Linked DNA regions of Homo sapiens: region 1 is linked to region 2. The links are contacts of gene promoters, found by promoter capture Hi-C in human tissues and cell types (Jung and others, 2019). All regions are on one chromosome and are shown on one strand. Each heading gives the region's core, a stretch centred on a gene start or on the middle of the fragment in contact. The rest is flanking DNA. Distances are from core to core; before and after follow the strand shown. Region 1 overlaps SNX10 (sorting nexin 10). Region 2 holds the start of HOXA2 (homeobox A2).

Region 1 (3,808 bases), core at 456-2,955, 750 kb after region 2:
GAGGTTGCAGTGAGCTGAGATCACACCACTGCACTCCAGCCTCAACAAGAGAGACCCTGTCTCAAAACACTCATTCACTTACTCTTATTTAAAAAATAGAATTCAATTAGAAAACAAGCAAAAGATATGAAGAGACATTTCACCCAAATAGGGCATACAGATGGCAAACAAGCACGTAGAAAGATGTTCGACATCGTTAACCACTAGGGAAATACAATTAACCCTACAATGATATATCATACATACCTATTACAGTTTCCAGGGGGATTATCACTATTTTTTATTTTAGCCATTGTGATAGGTGTGTTTTTTAAAATTTTCCATCATAGCTTAGTTTGAATCTTTGTAGCACAGTAAAGATGAGTAGGTGTTAACTGTAAAAATATTTACTTAGATTACAGAAAGATCACAAAAGACGAAAGCTAATAAAGCAGAATGTCTAGGTGTTAAGTGAATACTAATTTTTCATAGCTTTGATGAGAATTTTCTAACATAAAAATGTAAACTTGTCTCAGTTTGTTCTTTTTCTTGGGACATTTTTTTTCCTATTTCAAAGTAGTGTTTTACATGTTCATGTATTTACACTGGAGACTCATTCATTCACTTAAAATATATTGTGCAACAACAATGCGCTAGGTACTTTTCCATACAACTAATGATTATAGAATTTACCAGTGTGGGCTGGGCGTGGTGGCTCAAGCCTATAATCCCAGCACTTTGGGAGGCCAAGGCAGGCAGATTACCTGAGGTGAGGAGTTTGAGAACAGCCTGGCCAACATGGTGAAACCCCGTCTCTGCTAAAAATACAAAAATTAGCCAGGTGTGGTGGCACACACTTGTAATCCCAGCTACTCGGGAGGCTGAGGCAGGAGAATTGCGTGAGTCTGGGAGGCGGAGGTTGCAGTGAGCAACTGAGATCGTGCCACTGCACTCCAGCCTGGCCGACAGACCAAGACTCTGTCTCCCCACCAAAAAAAAAAAAAAAAAAAAAAAGCATTTACCAGTGTGTTAATCACCAGAGTGCTATTCAGGACCCCCATATAACAATTTCACAACTAAAATCTAGCACATTTCATATACTATATTCTTTACAAATAACAAAATAGAAGGGCAAAAGGAATATATCAAGCAACCTTTCTTTATTTCCTAATAACAGCTGTAACAAATAACTTAAGAGACATATGACAAGGGATATTACTTGCCACTCTACAGCATGGAGTATGTTTAAATACCATCCTCTGGTGGTACTGAATGATGATTTTTTGAGAAGCTTTTATTACTTCAGGATAAACAACTGTGAATGAGATTTAGCTAGACCTGCCTTTTACATGACTTATAATAGCTCACAATGTTGCAAGTTTCTTTACACAAGTAGTATCCCAAATCAGCGAGTTACCTTTTCATATCTTGTAACACATCAGGAAAAGTGCAGAAAAAAAAAACCTCCTCTTCTGCAGTAAGAAATAATTGGCATCCACAAGGATGCAATCAGCAAAATCTAGAATGTGAAAACCTCCATAAGGCAAAAGATGCAATTTCTTCCACAAATAAATTGCAAAAGGGGGAAAAGAGAGAATTAAAGACTTTAAACAATGTATCAACCAAATGCAATGTGTGGTCCTTATCTGAATCCTAATTAAATAGAGAATTAGAACAACCAAGTATATAATTTTTTTCAAAATAATCAAGGTAATTTGCACATTGAATATTTGATGATATGAAGGAATTGTTTAATTATTTAACATGTGATTATGTGGTTCATTTTTTAAAAAGGTCATTTGTTAGAAATGCATACTGAAATATTTACAGATGAAATTATATAATATCTAGAATTTGTTTCCAAATAATTGACTGTGGTAGCAGGAGGAAATAGGTGGGGTGGGGATATAGCTCGGCTATGAGTTAATAATGAGTTAGTAAATTGTTGAAGCTGGTTGGTAGGTACACATATGGGGGTTCATTTTATTATCATCTCTACCTTGCGTATTTTTTTGTTTTGGGGGTTGAAGAGGCAAGGTCTTACTCCATTGCATAGGGTGGAATGTTGTGGCTATTGATGATCGCTCAATGCAGCCTTGAACTCCTGGGCTCAAGTGATCTCGCCTTGGCCAAGTAGCTGGAATTACATGCATGCACCAACACACCCAGCTTTATGCAATTTTTTAACACAAACAGGAGCATAACCTACATTTATAAATACTATTTTGTTTATTGGTTTATTCACTATACAATCTTTCAGAATCTTTTTATGTGAGCATATATATGTCAATGATATTTGTTTTAAAATAAACTTTTTATTTTAAACAGTTTTAGATATAGAGAAATTATGAAGATAGTACAGAGTGGTCCTACATATCCCACACCCAGCTTCCCCTATTATTAACATTTTATATTAGCATGCTGCCTTTGTAACAATTCATTAATCAATATTGACATGTTATTATTAACTGAAGTCCATACTTCATTAAGATTGCTGGTCGGGCACAGTGGCTCACACCTGTAATCCCAGCACTTTGGGAGGCCGAGGCGGGCGGATCACGAGGTCAGGAGATCTAGACCATCCTGGCTAACATGGTGAAACCCCGCCTCTACTAAAAATACAAAAAATTGGCTGGGCGTGGTGGCAGGCACCTGTAGTCCCAGCTACTCAGGAGGCTGAGGCAGGAGAATGGTGTGAACCCGGGAGGTGGAGCTTGCAGTGAGTCGAGATCGCACCACTGCACTCCAGCCTGGGCGACAGAGAGAGACTCGGTCTCAAAAAAAAAAAAAAACAAAAAAAAAAAACCAGACTGCTTGATTGCTTTAGTTTTCACCTAATGTCATTAATCTGTTGTTCCAGGATCCCACTCGAGATACATTATATTTGGTCATTGTGTTTCCTTGGGCTCCTCTTGGCTATGACAGCTTCTCAGGCATTCCTTGTTTTTCATGACCTTGACAATTTGAGGAGCCCTCGCAGGTATTCTGCAGATTTGTCTGATGTTTGTCTCATGATTAGATTGGTGTTATAGGTTTTTGGAAGGAAGGCTACCTATTTCAGAGGGTAAAGTGCCATTTTTATCACTTCCAGGTGATATCACTTCCACATGCTAGCAACATAACATCACTGTGGGTGTTAACAGTGATCACCTGGCTGAGGAAGTGTTTGTCAGATTTCTCCACTGTAAAGTTATTCTTTGTTCATTTCTTAACAATTCAAAGATGAATTTATGTTTACTAATTCTTTCTTTTCCTAAGCCACTTCTAATTTAATCAGAGCTGGTGAAGTATTTCTTGAAATGTGTTAGAACACTGAGCTGGAAGAGTGAGATATTAAACTATAAATTCTGTATGATCTCAATTTTCTAAAAATGACATATACATATATATAGAAAAAGACTAGAAAGAAATAGCTCAAAGTTTTATTTTTTCCTGTATACTTTTCCAAAAATGTTCTGCAGTGAACAATTATTTTAAAATCTGGAAGAAGAGTTAAGAAAAAAAAAAGGAATGAAGATCTTTCTCTGGGACAAGCTCAGAAAAAAATATCAGAGTCCTCACAGTACCTGTAACACTAATGTAGCGCTCAGAATGGTAACAGCCTTCTCTGAAACCTGGTGTGTATGTGTGAAGACAATATTCCCAGCTGCCTTTCTTTGCTTACAGAAGACTGTAAATTGCCTCTTATGGAAACTTAACTATTTTTTCAAACAGGAACACTTAATAACTGAGTATAACAGAGACTGAGAAAAATGGAGGGAGGGAGGGTGGGAGGGGAAAAAGGGAGGAAGAAAGGAGGGAGAGAGGAACAACAAATTTAGGTTTTGGG
Region 2 (3,710 bases), core at 441-2,940:
TCAGTTAGTCTATTTCAAAGGAAGCAAAAGCGAATCACCATCCTCAGGGTTTGGGGGGGAAAGAGGTACCTCCAGATCTACCTCTCAGCCTCCTCACCTCTTTCTGGCTTGGTGGATTTTTTAAAAATTATTTTTTGGTACCTAAAGGTGTTATCTTTTGAACCCTCTAGCACTGTCCAAGATGCGCTCAGTCTCAAGTCTCCGAATTGGAAAAAAGATAATGAAGGAGAACGAAAACCTTTATAATTCCTCCTTGGGTCGCCTCCTCTCCCCCGCAGTGCTGTTTCCCACAACAGAACCCGGAAGCAAACATCCCCGGTGCCCAAGGATCAGGAAGGTGTGGGAGGCAGTTCAGGCTGCCAGGGAGCACTCGCTGTATCTAAACCAACCAGCCCCCAACCAGAGCGACAAGGACAAGAAGAAGGGTAGAAAAAAAAGAGAGAGGGAGGGAAAGAGAGGAGCAAGCATCTTCTCTTTCCCTGCTGGTAACTTCCAACAGACTTCCTGGAAATCGGAAATACTCACCGCACCCGAGCCCTACGGGTATGAAACCCAGAATGCCAGGAGCCGCACGCGCCTGCTCGGGGCGGCATTTCTTTGGCTGGCCGCCGCCCTGGCTACGGGGATTTGGACACATGGACCTGGGGTTGTTGTCTCGCTTGGCACATGCATCTTTCTCCAGCCACTCCTGAGAAGTTGATGGCGCAGGAAGGTCGGGAAGCTTCGAGAGCCGCCTCCCGTTTTCCGCTTCCCGCCGGAGCCAGATGCAAAGCTGCCGTGGAATAGCCTGCTAACAATGGGCCCGGGGCGCAGACTCTGGGCTGGACACTGGGAGGGGGGCGAGAGGCTGAGGGGAGAAGGGGAGGCGGACAGAAGAGAGAGGGAGGGAGAAAGGGGGAGAAGAGGAAAAAGAGGGAAAGGGACAGACAGGAAGGAAAACAGACCGAGAGAGATCAGTTTTGAGATCCAGGAACTGCTTTTAGGAAAAGTGAAGGAGGAAAAGGGAAAGAAAAGGAAGACCCCTTCCCAACCAAAATCTTTCCTTTCTTCTCTCTTTTCTGTCTTCTCTTTCTCCATCTCTCAAACTCTCTCTTCTTCCCTCTCTCTTTATTCTCCCTCTCTCATCTCCTCTCTTCCTCTGCTCCTTTCTCCTGCTTTAACAGAACTTATGTGGCTGGGACGCAGGGCCCTCGGGTGTCAAAACTTTGAAGATTAATGGATTACTTTGTTAATGACTGCAGGCGTCAGACTGAGGTGCTTAAATGATTTGTGAGGTGCGAGGCGTCTTCCCGACAGTCCCAAACAATGCGCGGAGTGTGCGGGGGAGGCAGAGGGCAGCCACCGGCGGGACCGACAGCAGGGCTTACACTCGCGCACATTCACACACACACACACACACTCCCAGGCACACACACTAGATAGATCCTTGCAGATCAGGAGGCACGCAGGCACCCTCGCCCCCACGTACTCCGGGACATCCCCACCCACACCAACATATATGTATTTTTGCTCTGAAAAAAGTGTAAATAAAGCCTCGCTGGCCCCCAATGAGGCGTTCCTTCCCGACTTTTTTGGATCAATCAAACAGACAGTGGCTTCTTTTGATTAAAGCCCAAATTGTCATTGGGCAGAAGCAATCATGTGACAGCCAATTCGGTCCAATTTCAACCTTGTCTCCATGAATTCAATAGTTTAATAGTAGCGCGGTCCCCATACGGCTGTAATCAGTGAATTAGAAAAAAAACACCCTAGCAGCGATATTCTATGATAGATTTTTTTTCCTCTGCGCTCGCCTTTTTCCTAGGCCTTGCCCCCCCAAAGCCCCTCCAAAAGAGGGAACTTTTTCTCTGAGGGGGCTCCAAGGAGAAGGCCATGAATTACGAATTTGAGCGAGAGATTGGTTTTATCAATAGCCAGCCGTCGCTCGCTGAGTGCCTGACATCTTTTCCCCCTGTCGCTGATACATTTCAAAGTTCATCAATCAAGACCTCGACGCTTTCACACTCGACACTGATTCCTCCTCCTTTTGAGCAGACCATTCCCAGCCTGAACCCCGGCAGTCACCCTCGCCACGGCGCTGGCGGCCGCCCCAAGCCGAGCCCCGCGGGCAGCCGCGGCAGCCCGGTGCCCGCCGGCGCCCTGCAGCCGCCCGAGTACCCCTGGATGAAGGAGAAGAAGGCGGCCAAGAAAACCGCACTTCTGCCGGCCGCCGCCGCCGCCGCCACCGCCGCAGCCACCGGCCCTGCTTGCCTCAGCCACAAAGGTCAGTCCAAAGACTTGGCCCCAGGTCTCTGGGACCCTCTTCCTTCTCCGGGCTGCCCCGAGAGTGGCTGTGGGGGGAGGGGAGAGTGGGCTGGGAGAGAAGGAGGAGAGGGAGAGATGCTTGGTTGCCTTGTCCCTGCCCCTGTGGGTTCAGGAGTGGGTTTGATGGAGAGGAAAGGGGATCCTGCGCTCTACAATGAGACATATATATTTTTAGGAAGTGGGGGGAAACTTTCCCGAACTTGTGTAATGTGGGATGATTTATTTGAGTTGGAACTGACCTCCTCCTGTCTAGTTGTCCTAGAGTTTGGCTTTTTGACAGTAATGAAGAGTGATAGATCGCTCTTGCTCAGCTAAGCAGCTGACGCATTAATTATAAATTGTGTTGTGGCTAATATAAAGTTTGCTCCCGGATGAAGAGGTTGGGGGGAGCCACAGGCATGAATTCGATAGAGATGGAGGAGACGGGGTCTGCCCAGGCTGGGCTCCCAGGAAAGGCAGCACAATAGCTCTACTGCATCCAGGGGCGGCCATTTTGTTGCAGTTGATCTTTTCTGCTATATTTATTCTCCAGTGGAATAACCCCGCTCGGACCCCTCCACCTCCAACTGTGCGTGTGTCTCTTGTTGGTTTCCCTTTCCGCAGAATCCCTGGAAATCGCCGATGGCAGCGGCGGGGGATCGCGGCGCCTGAGAACTGCTTACACCAACACACAGCTTCTAGAGCTGGAAAAAGAATTTCATTTCAACAAGTACCTTTGCAGACCCCGAAGGGTGGAGATTGCAGCGCTGCTGGATTTGACTGAGAGACAAGTGAAAGTGTGGTTTCAGAACCGGAGGATGAAGCACAAGAGGCAGACCCAGTGCAAGGAAAACCAAAACAGCGAAGGGAAATGTAAAAGCCTTGAGGACTCCGAGAAAGTAGAGGAGGACGAGGAAGAGAAGACGCTCTTTGAGCAAGCCCTTAGCGTCTCTGGGGCCCTTCTGGAGAGGGAAGGCTACACTTTTCAGCAAAATGCCCTCTCTCAGCAGCAGGCTCCCAATGGACACAATGGCGACTCCCAAAGTTTCCCAGTCTCGCCTTTAACCAGCAATGAGAAAAATCTGAAACATTTTCAGCACCAGTCACCCACTGTTCCCAACTGCTTGTCAACAATGGGCCAGAACTGTGGAGCTGGCCTAAACAATGACAGTCCTGAGGCCCTTGAGGTCCCCTCTTTGCAGGACTTTAGCGTTTTCTCCACAGATTCCTGCCTGCAGCTTTCAGATGCAGTTTCACCCAGTTTGCCAGGTTCCCTCGACAGTCCCGTAGATATTTCAGCTGACAGCTTAGACTTTTTTACAGACACACTCACCACAATCGACTTGCAGCATCTGAATTACTAAAAACATTAAAGCAAAACAAAGCATCACCAAACAAAAACTCCTTTGACCAGGTGGTTTTGCCTT

What was found. The method cuts DNA at HindIII sites, captures the fragments that hold promoters and counts their contacts. A contact is called where the count stands out against the background at its distance.
Region 1: a fragment that was not itself captured here is called in contact with the fragment with the promoter of HOXA2 in region 2 in 1 of the 25 tissues and cell types used here (mesenchymal stem cells).

Annotation. Positions count from the first base shown.
Region 1 is chr7:26,350,623-26,354,430 of GRCh38, reverse strand. All of the region lies in intron 2 of SNX10 (sorting nexin 10), which reads right to left. Among named protein-coding and RNA genes, the nearest start is that of LINC02981, 46 kb to the left of the region's middle. The HindIII fragment of the contact is 3,338 bases long and covers 37-3,374 here.
Region 2 is chr7:27,100,663-27,104,372 of GRCh38, reverse strand. HOXA2 (homeobox A2) reads left to right here and starts at 1,690. Exons shown (of 2, transcript NM_006735.4): 1 at 1,690-2,263; 2 at 2,908-3,710. The coding sequence starts at 1,873. The coding sequence ends at 3,647. RefSeq lists an enhancer at 1,016-1,855. The HindIII fragment of the contact is 9,606 bases long and covers 1-3,710 here.